Linked DNA regions of Homo sapiens: region 1 is linked to region 2. The links are contacts of gene promoters, found by promoter capture Hi-C in human tissues and cell types (Jung and others, 2019). All regions are on one chromosome and are shown on one strand. The core of a region is centred on a gene start or on the middle of the fragment in contact, and the rest is flanking DNA. Distances in the headings are between cores, read along the strand shown.

Region 1 (5,848 bases), core at 141-2,640, 1.0 Mb after region 2:
TCCTATATTTTTGCTAGGGAAAAAAGTTTTTGTTTTTGTTTTGAGACGGAGTCTTGCTCTGTCGCCCAGGCTGGAGTGCAGTGGCACGATCTCCGCCCACTGCAAGCTCCGCCTCCCGGGTTCACGCCATTCTCCTGCCTCAGCCTTCCGAGTAGCTGGGACTACAGGCGCCCGCCACCACGCCCGGCTAATTTTTTGTATTTTTAGTAGAGACGGGGTTTCACAGTGTTAGCCAGGATGGTCTTGATCTCCTGACCTAGTGATCCGCCCGCCTCAGCCTCCCAAAGTGCTGGGATTACAGGCATGAGCCACCGCGCCCGGCAAGGAAAAACAGTTTTTTAGGAAGGCCCCTGTCATTCTTAGTCCATAGGAATTTTTTTTTTTTTTTTTGAGACGGAGTCTGGCTCTGTCGCCCAGGCTGGAGTGCAGTGGCGTGATCTCAACTCACTGCAAACTCCGCCTCCCGGGTTCAAGTGATCCACCTGCCTAAGCCTCCTGAGTAGCTGGGACTACAGGTGCACGCCACCACGCCCGGCTAATTTTTGTATTTTTAATAGAGGCGGGGTTTCACCATGTTAGGCTGGTCTCGAACTCCTAACCTCGTGATTCGCCCACCTCGGCCTCCCAAAGTGCTGGGATTACAGGCGTGAGCCACCGAGCCTGGCAGATTATTTTTCACTTTAAACATTTTAGGAAAGACCCAAAGAATCCTCAGGGTTTACACTCACAGTACCTCGATTCCTGTATATTCCAAGATTTGTGGGAAGAAAAAGTACTAAGCTTGGAGTCAGGAGGCCTGATGTTTCTTCCTTTCACCAAGCTTCTCTAGTTCTGTTTCATTATCCCCATGGCAACAACTAGCAACAGTGACTGGCATTTAGTAGGCCCTTCATAAATATATGTTGAATAAACTCTAAAAGAGGTAGCTTTTCATTCCAAGTTGAGTTCTCTCTTGGTCCTGTTGCAGGCAAGGGCAATGGTACCCTGCCCTAGGTGCACAAGTGTGCAGGAGGGATCAATCGCAGAGCCTTTCCGAGAGAAGGGGCCCAAAGCGAGTCAACTTCTCTACTGAGCTTCCCATGAGGATGCTGGATCCCCAATCCTAACCATGCAGACGTCTGAGGGTCGCCGCCATTAACGGGAATGATATGGCCCTTCCTCCCCCACTCCCTCCTCTCTTCTCCCCTTTCAACACTTGAATTGGGCTCTCCGCTACTTCCGCACAGCGCAGGACCCACACGAGCCCAGAACCATCACGGCCTGCTAGTTCCCACCCCTCCCGTCCTGGAGGACCGTAGGTGGACGCTCTTGCAGAGCGCCTCTCGCTGGTTGGGGCGGGGGTGGGCGGAGCCAGCACCGTCTGGGCTGTGGAAGCGGAGGGGGTGGGGACACTCTGGCCCGGTTCTCGGTGGTGCGGGAGCGGGCGGGAGCAGCGGCCGCTCTGGTCGGCGGACGTGCTGCCGAGTAGTCCCGGAAGCGAAGCAGCGATGGCGGAGAGTCCGACTGAGGAGGCGGCAACGGCGGGCGCCGGGGCGGCGGGCCCCGGGGCGAGCAGCGTTGCTGGTGTTGTTGGCGTTAGCGGCAGCGGCGGCGGGTTCGGGCCGCCTTTCCTGCCGGATGTGTGGGCGGCGGCGGCGGCAGCGGGCGGGGCCGGGGGCCCGGGGAGCGGCCTGGCTCCGCTGCCCGGGCTCCCGCCCTCAGCCGCTGCCCACGGGGCCGCGCTGCTTAGCCACTGGGACCCCACGCTCAGCTCCGACTGGGACGGCGAGCGCACCGCGCCGCAGTGTCTACTCCGGATCAAGCGGTGAGCCGGGGTTTTTCCTCCCCCAGCCCCGAGCTCCGGGGCTCGACCTTCCCCGCCCCCCACCCTCTCCCACTACAACTCACCCCCCACCCACTGCGCTGCCCTCGCGGCGGCCCACCTCCACGGCCCAAATCTTGCCAGCTCCGGGCGTCGGGATCCAACTCCCTTCTCCCCCCACCCTCAGACCCGCAAGCACCAACCCCCGCCTCGTGTGCCCAGATCCGACCCCGCCCCTCGACAACCTCCCGTGAGCCCTCCGTCTCCATTCCGGCCACCCTCCCCCACACCTCCCACCTCCGGGTGGAAACCCGACCCTTTAGCGCTTCAGTAACGCCCCCTCCCGCCTTCGGCGCCGCCCCTATTTCCCCTTCCCCACCCCAACCTTGCTAGATGCTGCCCGCAGGCCCCACCCATCGGTCCCCTCTCTTCTCCTCTGGAGCCCCGTTCCTAACACAGACGAACTCAGCTTCCTTTGCCATGCCTCTGACTCGAGCCAACCTTTCTTTTTATCCTCCGTTTTTCTCAGATTCCCTCCACACAGTCTTTTCCCAGGTCTAGATCGCTTCCCTCGCCCCAATCTTTCCTTGAACCCCTTTTCCAGTGTCCCAAAGCTGTCCACTCTTACGCCTCTTCCAGAAACACAGGCTACCTCCCCCCAATTCCCCAGTGCCACTCTGGATTGTAATATCCCACTCAGGAGCTTCTTTCTTGTAATTTCCCTCCCCCCACCCCCCACCCTCCCCGGGTCGTCTGTTTTACTTCTATGAAGCAAATATACTCATCAAATATAGGAACAAAGGCCTAAGTCCTTTCTGTGCTTATTTCTTGGGTGACTGATCTTAGATCCTATCATTTAGTAGATGATGTTTTCCAGAAGCACATAGAATAGTACCTATCGCATAAGAAAAGGGCAGTGCTCTTTAGCTATTAATCCTGAAACCTGTTTGACTTCTCCCCATGCCCCCATCACAAGCATCTTCGTTTAGTTCTTATTCCCCATGTTCCACGTCCTTTCAGATGTCTCTGTGTCTACTTTTCAAGGTTGTAATAAAAATTAATATAATGTGTGTAAAGTACCTGGCACAGTGCCTGACACAGGAGGTCAACTGTGGAGGGATTGCCACCTCTAACTGAAACTCAGCACTCAACTCTTTTCCTCCTCCAGCCATTTCAGTCATCCAATTCTGACATACCTTTGAGTTTGGCCAATGCTTTCCTCTGCTTTGTCGCCTATTTGCCCTTTTTATGTCCCTACCCACCCTAGCAAGTCCCTAGGCTTTTCGCCACCTAGAATGTTCTTTAGCCCCTTGCTCTCAACTGATCCATTCCAGTTGGTGAGATATGAGTCAGAAATCTTATCTCCTATGGAAGTCCACATGTCATCTTCCAGATGGGAGATTCTTAGCAATTTCTGAGGATCCCTCCCCAGCCTGAAGAGATCTCTACCCTGAGACACCCCTGGGCAAGAAGGCCACCATGATAGTCTTACTCTCTGCTGGCTGGCTTGCTTCATACAATCCCCTTACCAATAAAGGTCCACTGTATAGTTTATAGAATTAGTTTTTTAGTGGAGTTGATGATGCCTTTCCAGTTACTAAAAAATCTTCATTTAGCATTCAGTCGTAGTACCTGGGAATCATGGAGGTGGGGAGTGAATGAATTGCCATGTGGGAGGAAGTGAGAGTAAGTGGAAAGTGGCTTTTCCAGGCTGACATTTGATGCCATTGGGATCTCTGATTTTTTTCCTCTCTCCCTCCCCTCCCCCTGAGGAAACAATGCCCTTTTGATAATAATTTGCTCTCTGCCTGCCTGACAAGTACTCAGCTGAGATTTCTCAGCCAACAAGACAGTACAAACACTTGCGGTACCAAGCACCACTTTCTCAAACCCTGGCCTCATTGAGGTGATAACAACTGTCCTGCTCAAGGGATTCCCCCTTTCCCCCTCTTCCTCACTCCTTCCCCCACCTCCTCTTGGTGTTATACAGGGATATCATGTCCATTTATAAGGAGCCTCCTCCAGGAATGTTCGTTGTACCTGATACTGTTGACATGACTAAGGTATGTAACTTGATGGGGGTTTGGGGGGTTTTGGGAAATTGGGGGCCATAAGGTTGCAAAAGCCTAAAAGAGATTATTCAGCTCACCTCTCCGATTACACAGATGAAGAAATCAAGACCCCAGGAGAGTAAGTGGCTTGTCCAAGGTCACATAGTGAGGTGGAGCAGCACTTTGAAGAGGTGTCTGTTATTAGTGTACCCCATAGGTACTGATTGGCTTGGAAAATCCCAGTTCATGTCTGTTGTCGCAGCTTGACTATTTATAGGGCATTCTTTCACTCTCAAAAATGCTCCTGTTTGGATAATAAATTATATGGTCACCCTATCCATTGTACTACCCAGCTCTTCCCCCATCCCGTTACTCTTGACATTAACTATGCTATGGTACTATAAATCAGATGTAGGGAAGGTTGGGAATAGGGCAAGCTTGACTGAAGTGTTTGTGGTTAAAGGACTTTGCTCAGGATCCTGTCCTTACTGGTTGCGTTTAAGTATCCCTTCCACCCCAAAGACTATACCTCTCTTGTCCTCCTCTCAGAGAGAAAGCTTAATACATAATGTCACATTTCTCTGGCATAGATACCTAGGTTTCTCTGTCACTGAATGCTCTACCCACAGAAGTGCAGTTGCACTTAAACTGATGTTAGAAAGAAATCATATTTCCTAAACCTAATGCTGTTTAAGTGAAACACATAGTTTTCTTACAGTAAATTTCTTACAGTAAAAATTCAGATTTTGTATTGTTGGTGTATCTTTTTTTGTTGTTTTGAATAGATTTCCCTTCATATTTTTTTTTTATGTAGTTAGAAATGTTTTTCCTAGGACATCTCGTCCTCAGTCAAGTACCAGTGTTAATAGCCTAGTACCTGGGGTCCCAGAGTTGATGCCATGTTGAGACCAGTTGAGTTTACTATTCCAAATGACTGAGAGCCAGAATATGACGTAGGGTCTTGCCAGGAGGGCAAGGTGGGAACTATAGACTTAGGCATTGGATTGCCACGTCCCTTTCCTTTTGCTGTTCAAATGCTTAGCAGACCTAAATGCCTAGGAGCCTTTGTGGAAGAAGAAATATAACTGAGTCAGTTCAGGTTTTCCTCCCTTCAGGGGGGGAAATCCTGTTGAAGAATTATGGCTTGAGGGGGAAGAGAATTTAGTGTCGTTTTCAGGACGGCTGATTTTTTTTTTTTTTTTTTTTTTAAACAGTATTGGGGAAAGTTCTGGGACTGGTCTAATGGCTCTGAGTGGACCCTGAGTCTTCCCCATTTTCAGTCATGATGTGCTGCCTGAGCCACATCCTCCACAATAGGTTTGATCCTCTGCAGAGGAAGCAAGCAGATACCCTAGGCATCCATCACACCCCCTAACCCTGCTGTGTTACTGGCACTGGGCTGTGGCCTCCAATCCCTTTCTTCGTCTCCTTTCATCATACTTTCCCTTCGTGCCACATAAATGTAGGGTGGGGTTGCATCATATGCATGTTTGGCCTGGGCAAATCCAAACATATATTCAGTCAAAATCTGTGTCGATTTCTCAAAATTAAAAACGCTAGGGTTATATTTTATAGATAAGCATATTATATTTTTCCACAGTGGTGTTTTATCCATTATATGTAACACTGATCAGGGAGGTCTGCACAAAAAAAAAAAATGCTTTAAGAGAGTTTTAGGGGATACTCAAGAGTGATTTTGACTAGATTCAGTTTTCGCCTTGGGCTCTAACTTTAGAAGTAACCCCTGAGTAAGATGTCATTCCACTGTAATGAGATTTCTTAAAATTCCAAACCTACGTATTAGTATGAGTGAATACAGGATGTTCCTTCTGCATGGTGAGGATATAGAACATGTGTACCAGATTATGGACTCTGCTTCTGGTGTGGGTAGTAGGTGGAGGGTAGCCAGGAGGGCTTGGGGTGGGTCATCACCTCACAATTTTGAGATGGGGTTTTATTTTGCAGATTCATGCATTGATCACAGGCCCATTTGACA
Region 2 (6,276 bases), core at 942-3,441:
GGAGGAAGAAGCTATGGCTGGGCAGGAGTGAGGTATGCAGACTTTGAGCAGGGTCTTGAAGGATGCATAGGAGTTTATTTATTTTTCTGAGAGACAGGGTCTCGCTCTGTCACCCAGGCTGGAGTGCAGTGGTGTGATCATAGCTCATTTTAAGTTCAAACTCCCAGGCTCAAGTGATCCACCCACCTCAGCTTCCCAGGTAGCTAGAACTAAAAGTGCGCACCACCACATGCAGCTAATTTTTTTTGTAGAGATGGGGTTTTGCCATGTTGCCCAAGCTGGGTCTCGAAATCCTGGGCTCAAGTGATCCGCCTGCCTCTGGCTTCCCAAAGCACTAGGAATACAGGTGTGAGCCAACACATCCGGCCATGGATGCATAGGGGTTTACCAGAAGGGAAGGGTCACATAGGAAGTCAACTAGTGGAAAAAAGCGTAAGTGTTTAGGAACCTGGAATCTTTCCTGGAGGGAAAAGGGTAGGATTTGTAGGAAGGGAACGGGGGTAGAGGGAGGAGATAAAGCATGAAAGATACACCAGTAAGAGTGTGTCCTCTGGTGGATGCTGAGGTTAAGAAGAAAAAAGAGTGGGAGGACTTTGCCTAGAAAGGAGTTTGGGCTTTATCTAGGAGATACGGATCCCATGAAGGATCTTTACTAGAGGAGTATTATTGTCTAAAGTCTTGTTTTTCAAAGGCTAACACTGAGAGGAGAAGACTGGAAGAGGCTATTAACATTTATTCAGCAATTACTGTGTACCCGGTATTCTGCTCTGCATTTTGTATTATCACACCAACCTTTTCTAGCAGTGTTTTTCAAACTGCCAGTCATGATCAACAAGAAGGAGAATAAGATAGGATAGGATAAGCATAGAAACTATCAGTGCGTCACAAGTAGTAAGCATTGTTTTCGGAAACTTTATGACACTCTCATACAAATAGCAGTGTACTGGTCTGTATGCAAAATGTATTTCTCTTGATGGACTATGTTTTTTTTTGTTTGTTTTTTTTTTTTTTTTTTTTAAGCCATCGCGCTAAGGTGTAGGTGTGATTAACCTCGTTTTACTGATGAGGACATGAAGCTCAGGGAGTTTCGGTACCCTGCCTAAGTTAGTGGGATGTGTAGGTTTCAAACCCAGACTGGTCTGAAGCCAGAATGGATTCCCTCACTAAGCTAGGCAGCCTTCCCAAGTTCTCGGAAGAGACTTGGGAGCAAAGATAAACCTACCCGCCTAGTGCCTACCAAGTGCTTTACCTCATCTCAAGAAGGTAAGGGTAAGTGGGGCAGAGGCCAAGCAGTACTTCTCAAACTCAAGCGTGCAATTCTGTCCACGCGAGGCCCTTGCTAAAATGCAGATTCTAGGCACGCCCCGTGAAGTACCGAGTCGGATTAGGAGAGGCGGCCAGGGGAGCCTGCCTTTAGAAAGAGCTTCGGATGATTCAGATGCACACGTTTGGGACCGTGGGCTATGGGGGTCGCCGCAATAACCATGTGAGGATTAACGGGGGCTTAACCGATTGTGAAAATCCCCTTAGAAGTGTCGCGTAAACAACCCCAACTCCCACTATGGTGCCGGACCCCAGTGCCTCACTGTACAAAGTCGCCCCTCCCCAGGCGACAACGAGAGAGGGACTAAATAAAAGGTTGATGGCTTTCCACTCACCAGGCATGGGGTTGAGTGGCAGCCGGCTACTGCCGAAGAGCAGGTAAAAGCTCCTGCCACACCTGGGCGAGACTGGACTTAGGGCGCAATGTATATGCTATTTCTGGGGCATTTGTGGGCCTCACCCTAAGGACTTCTGATTGGCTTCAGGGCAGATCTATCATTCATCCTCTGGGTTAGAGGTGGGTGGAAGGTCAACCTCGACCAATACAAAAGCACTCTTCGGCTAAGCCCCTCCCCTTCCAGCTTCCTGTTGCTGTACATCAACCACCCAGCGGGCGGGACTTTGCCTCCCTCCAATTGGCTGATGCACATGTCACTCATTATTCAATTGGCTTTCGGTTGGTGCGCTCTACCGTCCATCAGTGACATTGCACAGACCTATTGGTCAAATCAACGTCGCTCTAGACGCCTCTGGTTGATTGGTTAATAGTGCTGTCGGTCCCCAATGTTCCAAGCGCTTATTGGTGAAGGCTGCCGTCGCTCGGGCGGTGGCGGGCTCCGGGATTGGCGGTTGCTTGGCGGGCGGTGTCAGGCTCTCGGTGGCGGCGGAGGCGGCGGAGGCCAGGGAGGAAGATGTCGTAATGAGCGGTGGGTCCCGGCCGCTGCCGGCGGGGTCTTCCCGGCCCCCAAGGGTCAGGAAGACGGGCAGAGGCCGCGGGGAGAGGGAGCCGAGGCCGGGGGTTCCCCCCTGGGGCTGGGTCTGGCGTCGGGGCCCGGCTTCAGGAGGGGCGGGGGAGGGAGGATTCCCGCCCGGAGGAGGAGCGGGGCTGGCCAGCCGGGCGGAGGCACCCGGAAGGGGGCGTTCGACTCCCCGCCCCCTCGGAGCCCGCCGGGCGGGAGGGCGGCGCTTCCGGGGGCCGGCGAGAGGAGCGGGCACCGGGGTGGCCTGGCACCCCTCGGACGGGTGCCGACCCACTTCAACGCCGCTCTCCCGCCTGGGCGAACTATGCCTGGGTCGGCTCTGAGGAGGCAGCCAACAGCCCTTGTGTTCGCCCCGTGTCTGAGAGGCCTTCCTGCACTCTTAACTGTAGATGCCCACCAGCGATTCAGGGCTCCCCGGAGAACAGAGAGGGGCGAGGGAACGCTTGAGACCCGGACGCTGCCAACCAGATGGGCACTGCTCGGCATCGACGACAGCCCGGTTACTGATATATCCCCAGTCGGGCGATGGTGTCAGGACACGAGAGCACTCCCTGGGCAGATGACCTCTCACCGGGGAGTGGGCAAAAACCTTCCTTTAATGTTTTTACTTGGATCCTTGATCTTCCAGCTAGATATCTGCAAGCTCTTAGCAGAATTGTGAGAAGTTTGAGAACTTCTTGCCAGAGCTCCCAGCCTGTTACTTGACGCCCCGTAGGGGAGACTACTGCAGTCCCAAAGCTCAGGCGCAAACAATCTTAAGGAATTACAGAAGAAATAAAACAAAATAGATACTCGCTCTCTTCCTGTACCCACCTCCATCCCCATTGCTGACTTACGGTTTTCAGCCTCTTATCCATGCTTCTTATGTTTCCTTGCCAGCGGCTTTCTAATTTTAGTTCAGAAGGAACTATGTTTTCTCCTCTGGGCAACTGAGAAACCTGTCCTCACTGCATTCCTTGGTTTTGATTGCAATATCCTGTCATGTTTGTTTCTTAATTAACTTCATCCAAGGGGACTCAGTCTGGCCTTTCTCAGTGCATTCTCCCAAAGTTCTTTCTTCTTCTGAGGTTACTTCTTGTTCACTTATTGTTTCCTAGAGAAAGGTATGAGCCAGTAGATCTGCTTTAAACAATGAATTGGCCCAAGTTTCCCGTTTACAGATTTCATTACAGATGGACACTGTTTCAAGGTGCACTGGCATGCACTGTCTAAAACGGTTTCATGCTGTACCCCAGAAGGCATTCAGTTTCACAGTGGAGGGCTGTATTGAGTTGGTATTCTGGATGATACAATTTTTAGGGCTAGAAAGTTTAGAGTGTTGGCTGGCTCACAGGCTGCAAAGGAAATAATGGTGGAGTCCAGACCACAGCAGTAATTTCAATTACTAACACAAAGAAACCCATTGTCTGCAATAATGAATATAACTGCAGTGTCTTGTTTTGTTTTAAATTCTTGTGTGCGATGAAGGGGGCGAATCTATCAGACAACCTATCAATTGGGCTGATGATGTCAGTGTTCCAGTGGCTTCTAACAGGCGTTAATACCTGTTGGAAATGGATTATCATTGGCTGGGACGATTGGTAAGTTTTCTAATTCTAGTTCTTCCTCTTGGTTGTACAGAGGCTTAACCTCTTTGGTTAAAAGCAACTACAAGAAAAAAAGCGAGTCTGACATAATTATGAACCCCCCTGAGCTAGGCTGCTGAAGCCAGAAACTCTTTGCCAAGGAGACCCAAGTAGAGTTTGTTAATAATCGGATCCTCACCTGACTGCCCAACGGGGAGAACTGGCTCCGGGAGAAAGAGTTTGGCATCACTCTGGACAGCAGATAGACTGGCCACTTTTTTCTCTCAGATTCTATTAAAGTTTGGGCCTCTGGAGAGGCCTGTCAGAGAGGAGAAAAGAAATTATAAGATTTGGGCAAATGTCTGGGGTAAAGAAGCTTTATGGCATTTCAGCAAGTAGAGTGGTTGGTTCATTTGGATATTTTGGCCTTGAACTTCTTATTTCTTCTGGTGGTTAATACCAGCTTTTTGGAGAAGTTGAACAGTCCTTTGCTATAGGTCTGTGGCAGATCCCAAGTACTGTCAGCAAGTATAGTATTGCCCAACCAGGGCCCTTATGAAGACATTTTAAACTTGTTGCAGCCAACCAGTAGACCTTAGTATTGGCTTGGTTTCAGCCATCTTCTAAACCTTGCCCACTCATTTCTGTGATAGATATGTATAACATGTTTTTTTTCTAATACTTATTTTTTCACACACACCCCCCTTTTCTGTATACACAAAAATTGGAAACCCTGCTTCCAAACACTGAAAAACTTAGGATATTTTGGATCAGGTGGACAATGGCTATGGAATGAAAGATGCAGAGAAACACTGCTTTAAAGAGTATGTAGAGAGTTACAGAGTTTAGGGATGCAGTAGCGTGAACACTTCTGAGTTTACAAGATTTAACCTCATGGCCCCATCTTAAATCTTGCGGGCTGCAAACCTGGAGTAAAATCTGTTCAGGGAAGCTCATATGCTTTCTTACAAGTTCATTGGGTGATATGTCTGGAGTTTTCCCTTTTTGCAACTGACTTGGATTTGTCGGAATTTCTTCCCAGCACCTACAGGCTGAACTAAACCAGTATCCAGTACATTTCTGGGCTGATAAATGGACATCATTTTGGAATGCATTTGTTGCTTTTTTGCTTGTTTTTGCCTTGCTTTTGTTTTGGATATGCGTGCAACTCCTTGTATGACGTTGTCTAGACCTGTTGTAGGAGGAAAAAAAGTTCTTTCTCTTTATTTCTTCCCTTGTAGAGCCAACACTTAGATCTTTATGTTTCTGAAATGTAGTTGAGTGTCTTTTTAAAGATGCTCTTCCTCAATTATCAGCAGATCTTTTTTTGGCTAGCAGCATTCTCTTAGGAGACCTTGGGGTGGAGGAGGTCTCACTTTTCTGTCAGCAATCTATTGGAGCAAGGTGGAAAGATGAGTGAAGAGGGTAAAAATATGTGACATTTCTTTTTTTAAAATAATAGAGGCATAGTCTCTCTATGTCAGGCTGGTCTCAAAACTCCTGGCCTCAAGCAATCCTCCCACCTCAGCCTCCCAAAGTGCTGGGATTACAGGCATGAGCCACTGTGCCTAGCCAACATGGGACATTTCTAACTCGAGGGTATTGTCAGGCCATGTAGGAAAGGGAGCAGAGATTGCCCTTGAGGAGATGCTCCCAGGTGGCAGATTTGTCCTACTTGATAGATTCCAAAATGGAAAACGGATTTTTCTGCTGCCTCTGGGGACACTGAAAAAAGAACCTCCACATGAGTTCAGAGGCAGCACCGGCAGCTTAGGGGAAGTCATGGCTTCCACTGCGTGTCTAGGAAGCGCTCTTTCAGGATGCTCTGAGGCTGCCACTGGCACAGGGGAATACTGTGCTTCTCATCAGACTGGGCTGCGGGCTGATGTGCTCTTGGGAGATGAGCTCTGCTCAGGAGCAAGAGGTTGTGAAAGGGCTGATGTTTCTTAGGCTCCCCCAATGAGCAGCTCCAAGCAGTGCTGAGATGTCTAGGCCGTTTGTGTCACAGGACAAGCACACTTGCAGACCCAACTGTTGGAATCCTTCATTGGCATATCATTCCCATTGCTGCTGTTTGTCTCCACATCAGAATTGCTTGCTATACTTAGCCAGAAGCCCTGCCACATTGCAGTGCAGAGGCTTAGCTTTCTTGTTTTTGTTGCTGAGTGCTCTGAGATACCAGTTTGTCCCTTTGTGGTGATTTAGGCAGTTAGGTGGCCTTTGATCTCATTCACAGAGTAAAAATGGCTCAGGAGGAGCCAGCAGACACTAGCGTACACATTTCCAAATGTCATCTTTCTAGAGCCTTCTCTTTGGGGTTGTCACCTCTCCTATAGAATTTGGTAGAATCACAAAGTGGTCTCCAAGAGAGTGTGAATAGGAAGTAAGAGTGAGCAGGCAGGCCATGT

Evidence for each region. The method cuts DNA at HindIII sites, captures the fragments that hold promoters and counts their contacts. A contact is called where the count stands out against the background at its distance.
Region 1: the fragment with the promoter of UBE2Z here is called in contact with the fragment with the promoter of SP2 in region 2 in 1 of the 25 tissues and cell types used here (hippocampus).

What each region holds. Positions count from the first base shown.
Region 1 is chr17:48,907,017-48,912,864 of GRCh38, forward strand. UBE2Z (ubiquitin conjugating enzyme E2 Z) reads left to right here and starts at 1,391. Exons shown (of 7, transcript NM_023079.5): 1 at 1,391-1,804; 2 at 3,792-3,864; 3 at 5,818-5,848. The coding sequence starts at 1,488. It overlaps LOC105371814 (a long non-coding RNA gene), which reads right to left and starts at 1,967. Exons shown (of 4, transcript NR_135674.1): 1 at 1,923-1,967. RefSeq lists silencers at 1,530-1,779, 2,050-2,179 and enhancers at 3,053-3,102, 3,123-3,172. The HindIII fragment of the contact is 7,727 bases long and covers 1-5,848 here.
Region 2 is chr17:47,894,045-47,900,320 of GRCh38, forward strand. It overlaps SP2 (Sp2 transcription factor), which reads left to right and starts at 2,192. Exons shown (of 7, transcript NM_003110.6): 1 at 2,192-2,249. The coding sequence starts at 2,243. SP2-DT (SP2 divergent transcript) reads right to left here and starts at 1,772. Exons shown (of 3, transcript NR_135480.1): 1 at 1,659-1,772. It overlaps SP2-AS1 (SP2 antisense RNA 1), which reads right to left. Exons shown (of 3, transcript NR_103857.1): 3 at 4,342-5,259. RefSeq lists silencers at 419-713, 2,262-2,691 and an enhancer at 6,040-6,276. The HindIII fragment of the contact is 13,929 bases long and covers 1-6,074 here.